Linked DNA regions of Homo sapiens: all the other regions are linked to region 1. Evidence: promoter capture Hi-C in 16 types of primary human blood cells and fetal thymus (Javierre and others, 2016). All regions are on one chromosome and are shown on one strand. Each heading gives the region's core, a stretch centred on a gene start or on the middle of the fragment in contact. The rest is flanking DNA. Distances are from core to core; before and after follow the strand shown.

The links. The method cuts DNA at HindIII sites, captures the fragments that hold promoters and counts their contacts. A CHiCAGO score of 5 or more calls a contact.
Region 2: a fragment that was not itself captured here is called in contact with the fragment with the promoter of RTF2 in region 1 in 1 of 17 cell types (activated CD4 T cells); the score reaches 5.2 in activated CD4 T cells.
Region 3: a contact is called between a fragment that was not itself captured here and the fragment with the promoter of RTF2 in region 1, in 8 of 17 cell types (neutrophils, monocytes, naive CD8 T cells and 5 more). The highest score is 11.4, in neutrophils.
Region 4: a fragment that was not itself captured here is called in contact with the fragment with the promoter of RTF2 in region 1 in 16 of 17 cell types (neutrophils, monocytes, total CD8 T cells and 13 more); the score reaches 15.5 in neutrophils.

What each region holds. Positions count from the first base shown.
Region 1 is chr20:56,467,012-56,470,338 of GRCh38, forward strand. It overlaps RTF2 (replication termination factor 2), which reads left to right and starts at 1,616. Exons shown (of 9, transcript NM_016407.5): 1 at 1,616-1,755. The coding sequence starts at 1,687. The HindIII fragment of the contact is 9,363 bases long and covers 627-3,327 here.
Region 2 is chr20:56,341,625-56,344,951 of GRCh38, forward strand. No RefSeq gene overlaps it. Among named protein-coding and RNA genes, the nearest start is that of FAM210B, 16 kb to the right of the region's middle. RefSeq lists a silencer at 2,329-2,623. The HindIII fragment of the contact is 1,432 bases long and covers 839-2,270 here.
Region 3 is chr20:56,366,881-56,370,207 of GRCh38, forward strand. It overlaps FAM210B (family with sequence similarity 210 member B), which reads left to right. Exons shown (of 3, transcript NM_080821.3): 3 at 1-1,783. It overlaps AURKA (aurora kinase A), which reads right to left. Exons shown (of 9, transcript NM_198437.3): 9 at 2,510-3,327. The coding sequence ends at 3,278. Among named protein-coding and RNA genes, the nearest start is that of FAM210B, 9.6 kb to the left of the region's middle. The HindIII fragment of the contact is 8,673 bases long and covers 1-3,327 here.
Region 4 is chr20:56,383,187-56,386,513 of GRCh38, forward strand. AURKA (aurora kinase A) reads right to left here. Exons shown (of 9, transcript NM_198437.3): 3 at 3,071-3,327; 4 at 1,084-1,138. Among named protein-coding and RNA genes, the nearest start is that of AURKA, 7.4 kb to the right of the region's middle. RefSeq lists an enhancer at 2,900-3,327. The HindIII fragment of the contact is 1,547 bases long and covers 1,077-2,623 here.

The DNA of each region.
Region 1 (3,327 bases), core at 366-2,865:
CATGGTGGCGGGCGCCTGTAATCTCAGCGACTGGGGAGGCTGAAGCAGGAGAATCGCTTTGATCCTGGGAGGTTGAGGTTGCAGTGAGCCGAGATCACATCACTGCACTCCAGTCTGGGCAACAGATCGAGACTCTGTCTAAAACAAAACAAAACAAAATGAAGTCCCTACCCTCATAGAGCTTACAGTTATTGTGGTTAGCATAGAAATAAATCATAAATCAATCAGAGACCAACTAATTAAAGGGATTATTTTTTAAAATTCTCATTAATCACAGTAACAAGTACCCCAAGCTTACATATAGCCCTTGAAGTTTCCACATCCACGTATTTTCTGGGCAACTCTTCCCAAGTAAAAAATATTTTCAGCGTTTTTATGTTTCACGTAGGTCAATAGGGTAATATCCAATCATAAAGATCTGCCTTCTTGGCAATGGAGAAATTTTCCCATCATATATATGTACAAATACATACATACATACATACATACATATTAATGACAGAGTCTTGCTCTGTTGCCTAGGCTGGAGTGCAGTGGCATAATCATAAGCTCACTGCAACCTTGAATTCCTGGGCTCAGGCAATCCTTCCTACCCCCTCAGCCTCCGGAGCCGCTAGGACTACAAAAGCTTACCACAACGCCTGGCTAATTTTTCTTTTTCTTTCAAGATGGTGTCTCACCATGTTGTCCAGGCTGACCTGGAACTCCTGGGCTCAGGTGCTCCTCCCGTCTCGGCCTCCCAAAGTGCTGGGATTATAGGCACTTTCCCATAATATTTATAATAATTAAAGGAACAAACAGAGAGATAGACAATCGCCTAAGAGCAGACAGACAATCATGAATTTTTAGCAAGGGATTTGTGTTCTTATAGATAAAATACAGCCTGACTCTTGGAACGGGCATGGCAACATCAGTGTATATTTTATAAGAACTATTATATCGTCTATTAATGATACTTGATTGTTAATAAAATTTTTTTAGCCTGGGCTTCAGGAAACTGTGAATGAAATACACACACGCACAAACTGTATGCAAAATTTCACACACATGCCATCTACAATATGCATGGCAACACCAGAAAGTTCCAGGCCTTAAGGGAGGGTCTTACTTCCTAGAATCTGTTGTAACATCACTTCACAAGATTTGTTGTGAGTGCTTGAGTCACAGTTGGCGCTCAAGAAAGATGCGTTCTCCTTTTAAACACAAAAATGTCCATTGATACAGCAGATTCCGTTCATAGGCATCCTTAATCGCAGAAACAGGAGGGCGGCCCTTTTCCTCAAGGCGCTCTCAGTCCAGGGATGTGCCCGCTCCGCAGCCACACAAGCTGGCGTGGGATAGGGTCAAAGAGCGGTGGATGCGCACGGGCCGCCCACGCCCTCGCTGCCCTCCCGGAGCGTGGGCGAGTGATTCCGATTGTGCAGCAGAAACCCAGGGTCTCACGGGAACGAGGAAACCCGCCCACGCCCAGCCTCCAAGCGACGCTCTCCATGACAACCGGCACTTGGTAACGGCCTCGCCCTGCCCCGCTACGCCGCGCCTAGCGTGCCGCCCCGCCCCGCCCCGCTACGCCACGACCAGCGTGCTGCGTCACGGCGGTGCGCCGGAAGTGGCTGCGGATTTCGCCGGAAATCCCGGAAGTGACAGCTTTGGGGGTTTGCTGCTGGCTCTGACTCCCGTCCTGCGATGGGTTGCGACGGGGGAACAATCCCCAAGAGGCATGAACTGGTGAAGGGGCCGAAGAAGGTTGAGAAGGTCAGTGATGTGGGCCGGCTCTTGGCGACCGGGGGTGGTGGGAATTTGACGACCCCAGAAAACGAGAGGAAGTAAGAAGGGGGAGCCAGCGGAGTTCCAGACCTGGCTGCGGTCTTTTATTCCATTCAGAGGACTCAAAATTAACAACAGTATTAAGAGTGGACATTCAATGGGTGCTGACTATTGCCATTCACTGGACAGTAATCTTAACAGGGGGTATCTCATGTAATTATCACAATAGCCCTATAGCTACATACTGTTGTCCTCATTTTCAGACATGGAAGTTGAGGCTCAAAAGGAGAAATTTGCAAAGCTAGTAAATGGCAGAGCCAGGATTTGAACCCTACCTGCGACTAGTAGCAATAATACAAATACCTAGTGTATACTGAGTTTTGTATACACTAACTTCATTTGCTCAGAGAAGCCTTCCCAAACTGTTCCCTTACCACATCCTTTTATAAACTGTCTTAGCCTGCACACGGCTGTACGTGGTTGATTTGTATCAAGTCTTCCCCGCTAGACGGTAAGTTCCTGATAGCAGAGGCTGTACCCTTTTTTTCTCTGCAACTAGCATGGTTCCTGGCACACTAAATATTTCGAATAAACAAATGAGTGAATAATCCCTGATCTCACAAGTAATCGAGGAAATTATAATAATTTCTTTGCTACTGACGGGGACATTGAGTCCAGGGATATTAAGGTGACTAAGATCACACAGCTGGTAGGTAGTGAAGCCAGGATTCCCATCCACTTATTTGGGATTTCAAAGTTAGCACAAGTAATTACTTTTTAATGATAAAATATTTGTAAAGCACCTAGTAGAGACTTCTTTACAAAAATATTTGTAAAGCACACGTGGAGACTTCATGTATTCTGATTCAGGAGCTGGAGAGCTTGTTTAAAAGGTAAACCCCTTAAGTCACTATTGTATTTGAAGCATTCCAGTGGCTTCCCATCACATTAAGAATAAAATCTCGTCAGACCCTTGAGCAGACCTTGCCTATGTTTCTGACCTCATCTTCTGCCCCTCTCCACCTCTTTCATACTGTTCTAGCTAAACAGGCCTCTTGTTCTTCAACCTGGAGTGTGAGTTCATCAATCTGAAATACTCTTCACTGAGATTGTCACATGATGAGTTTCTTTACTTCATTCAGTTTTTTACTCAAATGTCATCTGTCCACTGTAACTGAAATGTGCCTCACTTCCAATATTCTCTCTTCTCTTCTTAACAGTGCCTACCACTGTGTTGTTTATTGTCTCTTTCCCACGTAGACAGGAACCTTGTGTGTCTTACCTCTGTAACCCCTACCATGTGTCAGCCACATAATAGACACCTAATAAGTATGTGTGAATATGGGAATGAATGAATACCCAAGAGGATGAAGTGTACCCTCTGATCATACGTACATGTAAACAGGCGAATGCTGGATAATTAGCATTCATGAGTGGTTTTTTGGCTTTCACCAAAAAAGTGTTTAGCTCAGTTTTGTTTTCTTGTGCCCAGGGCTGAAAAGGAGTAGCTTAATGAAAGGCTTGACAAGAAACAGGTGTCGGAAGAGGGTAGAAAAGAAG
Region 2 (3,327 bases), core at 305-2,804, 130 kb before region 1:
GACAAAAACAAGAAATGGGGAAAAGATTCCCTATTTAATAAATGGTGCTGGGAAAACTGGCTAGCCATATGCAGAAAGCTGAAACTGGATCCCTTCCTTACACCTTATACAAAAATTAATTCAAGATGGATTAAAGACTTAACTGTTAGACCTAAAACCGTAAAAACCCTAGAAGAAAACCTAGGCAATACCATTCAGGACATAGGCATGGGCAAGGACTTCATGACTAAAACACTAAAAGCAATGGCAACAAAAGCCAAAATAGACAAATGGGATCTAATTAAACTAAAGAGCTTCTGCACAGCAAAAGAAACTACTATCAGGTGAACAGGTAACCCACAGAATGGGAGATCTTGGTTCACTGCAACCTCTGCCTCTCCAGTTCAAGCAATGCTCCTGCCTCAGCCTCCTGAGTAGCTGGGATTACAGGTGCCTGCCACCATGCCTGACTAATTTTTGTATTTTTAGTAGAGACGGGGTTTCACCATGTTGCCCAGGCTGGTCTCGAACTTCTGACCTCAAGTGATCCACCTGCCTCAGCCTCCCAAATTGCTAGGATTACAGGCATGAGCTACCACACCTGGAGAAGATTCTATTTTTAAACAGGACCAGAGATCATCTTGAACAAAGGAACTCACCCACTGGTACATATCTCAAGAGGAAAGCATAAATACACTGATGCACTTTGGCATCTTGAATTAATTTTTGTATAAGGTGTAAGAAATCATTCCATACACTCACATTCTATTAGTATTTATTCATTTACTAAGACTTACATATGCCAAGATTGCTGCAAGCAGCCAAACGAGATTCATTCCATTCTATAGACTTTATAGCAAGCTTGTCCAACCCACAGCCTGAGGGCTGCATGGGCTTTGAATGCAGCCCAACACAAATTCATAAACTTTCTTAAAACATTATGAGTTTTCTTGTGATTATTTTTAACTCATCAGCTGTTGTTAGTGTTAGTGTATTTAATGTATGGCCCATGACAATTCTTCCAGCGTGGCCCAGAGAAGCCAAAAGATTGGACACCCCCGCTTTATAGCATTGTTTGCAAACTGGTGATTGCCAGGGCCCCATGCAGCATTCAGAAATATTTGGTTTGACCTGTGGATTTTCTTTTTAAACTCACTGCCAACATTTAAAAATCAGGAGATTTTACATTCTTAAAACCCAGATATTCAGCTTGGATCAGTTAGCATTTTCTGTGTAACAACCAACCATTTACTCTCTCTTGTTTTTGTCATTCAGCAATTTGGGCTGGGCTCAGCCAGATGGTTCTGCTGGCCAGGGCCAGCCTGGCTGATCTCAGCTGGGCTTGTCCATGGGTTTGTAGTCAGCTGCCAGATCAGATGAGGCAGGCTGGCCAAGGGTGTCCTCGGCTGAGATGCTGTACGTGGTCTCATCTTACAGTGGACTAGTTTCTAAAGACAAAAGCCAAAGGGTGCAAGACATTTTGAGGGCTGGGCTCAAACGCACATGCCATCATTTCTGCTGTATTCTATTAGCCAGAGCAAGTGTTAGGCCAGCCCAGACTCAAGGGGTGGAGAAAGAGACTCCACCCTGGATGGGAGGGAAAGAATTTGTGGCCATTTTTGCAATCTACCATACAGTTATCTTAAGAGATCAGTGGATGTGGCCACCTTAGGCCACATGGCCAGCGGTATCCATGTGCTAGAGCCCAGAAGCAGCTTCCTTCCTTAGACGGGTGTGTTTCTCCTGCACAAGCCTTGTCCTCGCTGCTTCACTCATTTATACGACCATCTGGCCCCGTGGGCAAGGGAGGGCTTGCCATTCCTGATCCCAGAATGATCTCCCTCCTCAATGTATCCCAAAGCCATGCCCAGCCATGAACGCAATTGTTGTGCCATACCCAGAAATCACTTTTCACTTCTCAGAAAATCTCTCCCTCTACTTCCCCTATTTCCTTCCCCTGCCAATAGCTGGTGGAAGAATCTGCGGGAGGAGTAGGGAGAGGTTATTCAATAACCTGAGGATTTAGAAAAAGGGCAGTTTGGGAGCCAAACAGCCTTGGGTTCCATGTTGGTTCCACTCCACTCATAATCTCTCAGTTTCCCCATCTGTAAAACTACCTGCTGTGTTGCCATATTCCTCTTTGAAGATATTGTGTCAAGTCGTACGTAGTGCATAAATGGGGACTCATTTTGATGTAATGGAAAAAATTAAGAAAAAAAGAAAATAGAAGAGTAGTTAATGTCAGTTGCCTGTTTAGCTCTGCAGCGCCCAAGCCTGATGAATTTACGACAAGCTTCCAAAAAAGGCAATTGCGGCTTGCGGAGGGTCTAGAGGCTCAGTTGCCCGAGGCTGTCTTGAGGAGCTGCCTTTGGGACTCCGCGAAACCTCGAAGTCTTGGGCTGCGCCTCCCCTTGCGCGGTCGGAGCCTTGGCAGAGCCTGCGGCGCCACCTCGTGGGCGAGGCCGCCTGGTGCAAGGTCATCCGGTGCCGGGACCCGCTCCTCGCCCCGCCAGGACCCCCGCTCACCTCCAAGCTGGACGCCCGCGGAGCCCTGATCCCCTAACGCCCGCTTCCGAGGCCGAGCTCTGCAGCCCCCTGCAACCATCAGATCCAGATTGCCTTCCTGCACGAGCGCGCAACTCTCAGCCTCGGAGCGTGCTGGAAATGCTGATGGGAACCGTTTGAATGACCGGGCACGGGTCTGCAAGAAACTCAGCTCCCAGGCCAGCCGTGGCTCAGGAAGCCTCCCACGTCGGGTAGAATCCCAGGAATCCACCCTTGCCCCCATCCTCCCTTAACTTCCCCAAGCCTCAGTTCCTTCATCTGCAAAATCGAAATGGTGATAATTCCAACACCAATAGGGGTGTGACCATCTGCACCAAGCACTCAGAGCCTGGCATAGAAAGTGCAGCTCTTCTTATTAATTAGGCCTGAAACTCCTCTGCATAATAGTAATGTAATAATAGTAATGTAATAACAATAATAACAAATAGTAGTCTTCACTGTCATCATAGTAAATGGTAGCAGGTACATGGGCTATGCACTTATTATCTCCCAAGCACTAAGACTCTTCCGTGTATGGAATGTTTTTTGTTTGTTTTGTTTTTTTGAGACGGAGTCTTGCCCTGTCACCCAGGCTGGAGTGCAGTGGCACAATCTCAGCTCACTGCAACTTCCGGCTTCCAGGTTCAAGCAGTCCTCCTGCCTCAGCCTCCCCAATAGGTGGGATTACAGGCATGCACCACCGCTCCTGGCTAATTTTTGTATTTGTAATAGAGATGGAGTTTCACCATGTTAGCCAGGCTGGTCTCAAACTCCTGACCTCAAGTGATCCGCCTGCCTCCCAAA
Region 3 (3,327 bases), core at 307-2,806, 100 kb before region 1:
TTCCAATCTGGACATGATGGGGCTGATTCCAGATGGTTTTTCTGAAATTTCATTAAGGTAGGTCAGCGTCATTTGTCTCTGTTTAGGTAAAATATAAAAACCCTGCCCAGTAGCAGTGGCATCGCTTGGTTCCTGATGCCCATGTTCCAGAGGAATTCGGATACCACAAACAGCTAAGACAATCTCAGCTTTTCTTAGACAATCTTCTATCTCAAACTTCAGACATTCCAGAATTGTCATGATGTTTACACTGTCTGAGTTAAAAATCCTGTTCAAGAAAAAAAAAGATTTTGTATCACTTCTTAAAAAGGAATATTCATAGCACTTGTCACAAATAGAAGGCAACCATGAGATAATACAAGCCAGGGAGAGGCTTGTATTACATGACAGGTGTAATTAGTCTGCTGAGCCAGCTTTACCCAATGAAGGGCATATGTGTTAGAGAGATTAGCTAAGAGTAGAAATTCGAGCATAGAGGCCAGGTGCGGTGGCTCACGCCTGTAATCCCAGCACTTTGGGAGGTTGAGGCAGGCGTGTCACTTGAGGCCAGGAGTTCGAGACCAGCCTGGCCAACATGATGAAACCCCGTCTCTACTACAAATACAAAAATTAGCCGGGTGTGGTGGCACACGCCTGTAGTCCCAGCTACTGGGGAGGCTGAGGCAGCATTGCTTGAACCCAGGAGGTGGAGGTTGCAGTGAGCCAAGATCACACCACTGCACTCCAGCCTGGGCGACAGAGGGAGACACTGTCTCCAAAAGAAAGAAATCCCAGCGTAGATCCAAACTGAGACACTGAGGCTTCGTCCTTATAGTAGTCAGGAGCAGGCGATTGAAGTAATTCTGTCCTGCGGGGTTCAGCATCATGCACGTTCCCCCTGGGCCATTCTCTGATGCAGGGCACTTGCTCCACACTCTGGGAACCCAGATTCACCAGTCTGCCCTGTCACGTAGTTGAAGGAGTTGCATTTATCTTTCTGGCTCCTAATTCCTTTAAAATTACATTTGTTGCAGAACCTCCACAAGGCTAAATAAAATTACATTTGTGACCATCAGAGAACTGAATAAACCATTAACTGGCCATCCTGGTTTTGCAGAGATCAGGTTGTTGACAGTTCCTGGTTGACCCACAGCTACCCATGTCAGTTATCTCCACTAACATATCCAAGAATCTTTGTAGGACAATTTCTCCACCTGCAAGGTCTTTCAGGTAGAACTCTTCTTTTAAGGCAATTAGCCCATTGCCAAAAGGTTTTACTGTCTTAAAGCTGTCTTTCTGAGATCTAATTCCAAGGACTTCTCCACAGCTAAGTGAGATGCCTCACACCATTAGGTGATGCTTTGGACAGAACAGAGTATTTTCATCTTGTGTTTAAAGCAATTCCTTGGCTTCGGCTCCTCACCACTTTCTATGCCAGTCTCCCATTTATGTCCCTAGTAATGCCTATGCAAAAAAAAAAAAAGAAAAAAAAGAAAAACTGATGGTGAAACCTACAGGTTTAAGGGCTTAAATCTCAAACTTTGTTAGGAGTAACAGGAGCGTGCTGAGCGGGCAAGCAATAAAACAAATCATACCAAAAAGCCACATTGCTCTCTCCTAAGCCCCAACCCCACTCCACTCCTGTGGCCAGGGGTCCAAACAGAAAATAACCGGAGAAGACAAGGAGGTCAAAGGATCAGGGAACTAAGCATTATGTGAATTCACCAGCAAGATGTACAGAACGCCTGTGTTTACATTGTTTTTATGGAACTAGCAGAATAAAACATCTATTTTAAAAATGAAAGCCATTGTTTCTCTAATTTATCTGACAAAGTGAGCAGCTTAAATTCTGTGAAACATCTTTATAGTTTATGAACTTTTTTATATTCCTTCTGGTAAGCCATGGTTGTTGCTGATGATGAAGTGGCACTGTGACCAGTGTATTAATGTGCTACTACAATGAGCTTTTTCTTTGCTTGTGTGGGATTGTCTGGGGAAACGTCCCAAGTCTCACTGGTGTCACTGGGAAAGTCAGTCACGTGATAATAACTATAGCTTGGGAGGGTGGCACATGAACTATTTGGGAAGGTCAAAGTCAGTTCAGCTCAAGACTATGAGAACCAGAAGCCCCTTTGTCCCAAGGGGGCTGGCAGCTGCAGTTTTACTGAGTCATGTTTTTAAGTTTCTCTATATTGGCCACTTTGTTATGACATATCCTGACATACCTGCTGTCCAGTTTCTTGCACTGAGCATTGGCCATGCAAGCAGATTTCTCTACTAGCTCTAAGTTCAACACTTCTACTTTTCCTTCATCACAGTCACTTTCACCGTATCTTTAGTCGATGGACAGATGACAAAGATATGACAAATATATAAACAATATATATAATGAAGTATTAGGAGTACACCCAACAGGAGAGACCAGAAGAGGCAGGACTAGATGAGGGCGAGACCTGCTCCTCTCAGCCCCTGCTCATTTCCAGGCCAACAATGAACAGATGGTGGAAAGAATTACACAGCACTCCACACAGACATAGATACTTATTTATTTGCATATTTAAAGTTTACACACATGCTATGACTCCAATGTTTTAAAAAAATAAGCCCTTAACAGCTCTGAGACACATGGCCTCTTCTGTATCCCAAGCAAATCCCTAAATGGAGGTAGAGCACGTGTTCCTATTTTTCACACTCTCATATGGGAGATAAGTGGTTAAGGAGGACTAGAAACCCAATCAGGCCTACCGGGGTGCCGGACAGACACACAGCATTCCTAAAGGAATGCCACCAGAGAAAAAATACAAGTCTGTACATATATCTTTATTTTCATACTTAAAAAGAATCACATACTCATTCCAACAGCTTTACCAGGCTTCGCCAACCCAATAAGTTACACACTCACTCAGGTACTAGGAAGGTTATTGCACAGCTCCTTAACTGATCGGGGTCAGGGCAGAGTGGTCACTTTCCCCACAGCCAGGCTCTGGATTTGCCTCCTGTGAAGACACCATGCCTAGCACAGGCTGACGGGGCGGCTGCAGTCGAACCTTGCCTCCAGATTATGAACCAGTATAAGTAGCACAATTCTCGTGGCTACTTTCACTTCAGAGTGTCATGTTTATTGATGTGGAGCTTTCTGAATAGGGAGGTTAAGGCACACCTGCTGAGTAAAACAAATATTTCTTGTGTAGCGTTCTAGATTGAGGGCAGCAGTCAATGGTAAAATAAACTTCAGTAGCATGTTCCTGTCAGGTTATATGGCAGCCCTGGCTCAAGGATTTCTCCCCCTGCACGATTCCTAAGACTGTTTGCTAGCTGATTCTTTGTTTTGGCAATTTGATGGTTTTG
Region 4 (3,327 bases), core at 600-3,099, 84 kb before region 1:
TTTGAACACTTTAGAATGTGAAGAAAACAAAGCTTTTCTAACAAATTTTCAATGAGTAGCAGACACATTCTACAAATAATTTCGTATTCCAACTTCACTCAATATGCATCCTCAGCAAGAACCAAGGCAATAACCACTATCAAAGAGCTGCCACGACATGAAACCCTGACGTCCCTAGCTGCCGTCAGGTGTGAGAGTCAGTGACAAGGAGCAGTCTCGGGTTTTAGACCTGAAGCACTCTATGGGAAATGTCCCAAGCCCGTACTATGCTCAGAGGAACAGGGCCATGACAACGCTGAAGACCACAAAAAGGATAAGTGACCAGAGAGGGAGGAATGCTTCCAGACCATCTGGGGGCATGTTTCAAACTAACCCCAGCTGCTCCCTCCAGTCCCAGAGGTGCTAATTCTCTCTGGGTGGAGAACCACTCTGGTGGTGGAGACAGAGCCACTGTTACTAATGGAAGCGGGATGGAGCCCACAGGCTAGCTGGGGCATGAGAACCAGTGGATTTAGACTCTTAGCCTCTGTTAGACCGCTAAAAGCAAAAGAGTCTGTGGGTTCATTCCTCGCTCCTCCCGGTACATTCTAGAGTCCAGATAGTTCAGAGACTGAGAGGAGGCTTTTAGAAAAGCCCTGGGGAAGACATTACAGCCAACCTTTACAATAAAGAACTAAAACTATAATACTGTCAAAACCCTCAGTCATATATGAGTATATAGTTCTGCAACATATTCTATTTTTTAAAAACTTGCACTTTTGTACAATAAAAAAGTACAGACGCATAAACCATATGTAGTGGTTATTTCTAAGGACAGAGAGGAACTTCCACACATTTCTATAAAAGATTCATACAAGCTTTTTCTAAATTTGAAAGCCATTTTTTAAAGCACTTGAGTTCCTAGTAAAATACCTCATTACACAAAATTCCATTTTTTTTAAGATTGGAAATCTGGAAACATTTATATCCTCTAAATGCAAATAAAGGCCTCATTTTTTTCCCCAGAGTTCCCACAACGAAATTTGCAACGAAATAATATATTCTAGTAGAACAGTACAGAACTTTGTAAATAAGAAAGCTTACTTTTTTGATTCTTCATTTTTCTGTTTTGATGCCAGTTCCTCCTCAGGATTATTTTCTATATGGAATAAGTTAAAAACCTGTTTTTAGAATAACTATATAGGATAAGCTAAGCTGTGAATAGAGGTGAATCAAAGAATTGGTCACCAAAATATTAATGGTATGTCAAGAATGATAAATCTGTTTTTTTTTTTTAAAGTTTTCCTTATAGAAAAAAAGGACTACTACACCCTGACTTCCATCATGTGAAGCCTTTATAGAATTTCTAAAGATGAGCAGACGTATATATAGACAGGCCCTTCTCTGATAAATTAAAGGCAGACTATGCAGGCTCTTCTGAAGCCTCAGTTTCCAAAGAAGAGCTTTTGTGGCAGAAGTACCAATCTTCCCATGCATGACGAGCTGCCAACTCGTCACCTTTTTCCCCTTACTAGGTGGGCCAGCCAACAGTCCATACCCTACATACGAATTATCACCAACATGTAGCAAAACATAAGCCAGCCACCCTCCATTTATATTAGCTGCCAAGGGGAAATATAAAAATAAAAGCCACCAATTCAGCAAAATGCACAATGAACAGTTGTGCAGCAGAGGACTGGGGTAACTATTTCATCAGCCACAAGGACATATGAAACATTTCCACTGGTCTGTCTCCAACATAGCAAACTCGAACAGCACACAATGCTCTGCTCAGATATCTGGATGCTGGTCCAAACTCTTCCTCCAGATGCCCCTGTCACATGTGCACCCCTCAACCCCCAGGACACTCACTCAATTAATATCAATCTAATCACCATCCCTAACTCCTCTTTATTCATCTTTCAGGTACAATTTATTGCCCAGTTCTAATGAGTCTGCATCGTAAATGAGCTCTCAAATTTGTGTGCACCTCTCCATCCTGGCTTGTCTTTGGATAAGTTAACTGCTTCTGAGTCTTAGCTTCCTCCTCTGTAAAACTGAGTTAATAACTGGCTACCTTCATGAAGTGGTTACGAAGATTGAAAGAGATGACGTGGATGAAGCACGCACTTATCTCAGAGCCTGCAGGGAATGAGCACTCAACAGTTGGTAAATAATTGCATCCACTCTGCTCCACACAGAGCAGGTTATTGCCATCTCTGACCTCAACCTCCTTCCTGTCTGGTACTCCTAAATCCAGCGTTCTACTCCAATTTATTCAGTACTTCCACAGTAAATTTTTTTTTTTTTTTTGAGATAGAATTTTGCTCTTGTTGCCCAGGCTAGAATGCAATGGCACAATCTCGGCTCACCACAACCTCCACCTCCTGGGTTCAAGCCATTCTCCTGCCTCAGCCTCCTGAGTAGCTGGGATTACAGGCGTGCACCACCACGCCTGGCTAATTTTGTATTTTTAGTAGAGACAGGGTTTCTCCATGTTGGTCAGACTGGTCTCCAACTCCTGACCTCAGGTGATCCACCTGCCTCGGTCTCCCAAAGCGCTGGGATTACAGGCGTGAGCCACTGCGCCTGGCCTTCCACAGTAAACTTTCTAAAAGGCAGAGTTCCCTTCTGAGTTCAAAAAAGCTTCAGTAGCTTCCAAATGCCCTAGAGATGAGGCCCCATTCCTTAACATGGCCAGCAATGCCCATGGTGACCTCACCGCAGCCTGCCTCAGTTCACCCACTTCTCTGGATTTCCCCCACACTTTAGATCTCAGTCCCTTCAAGTCACTTACTGCAAGCACCCTACATCCAGACTCAGTAACAAGCAATCAAAAGGACACCAATTTATGCTGTGTCCTCCCTGGGTGCCCAACTCTTCCAAGAGGGTGAGAATCAGGTCTGTATTTTTAGCATAGGTCTGGCCCATGGGCAGACACTGTTACTTCAACCCAGACACCATATTTTCTCCCCATCCTCAACAGATATAAAAGCTAAGGCTCCAAACAATAAGTGCAAGTATATACACTGGCTTTTTTAGCAACGACGACAAAGAAGGACTATCCAATGAGTCTCAAAAGCTAGTTTACCAGGTGCCGATGGCAGGGGCTGCTTGCTCTTTTGGGTGTTATTCAGTGGCCTGGAGACAGGATGAGGTACACTGGTTGCCTGCAATTGCTTCTGCTTCTGATTCTGAACCGGCTTGTGACTGGAGACAAGCTTTTGTGCTTGCAAAGGAATGCGCTGGGAAGAATTTGAAGGACACAAGACCCGCTGAGCCTGGCCACTATTTACAGGTAATGGATTCTGACAAGGAAATTGCTGAGTCACGAGAACACGTTTTGGA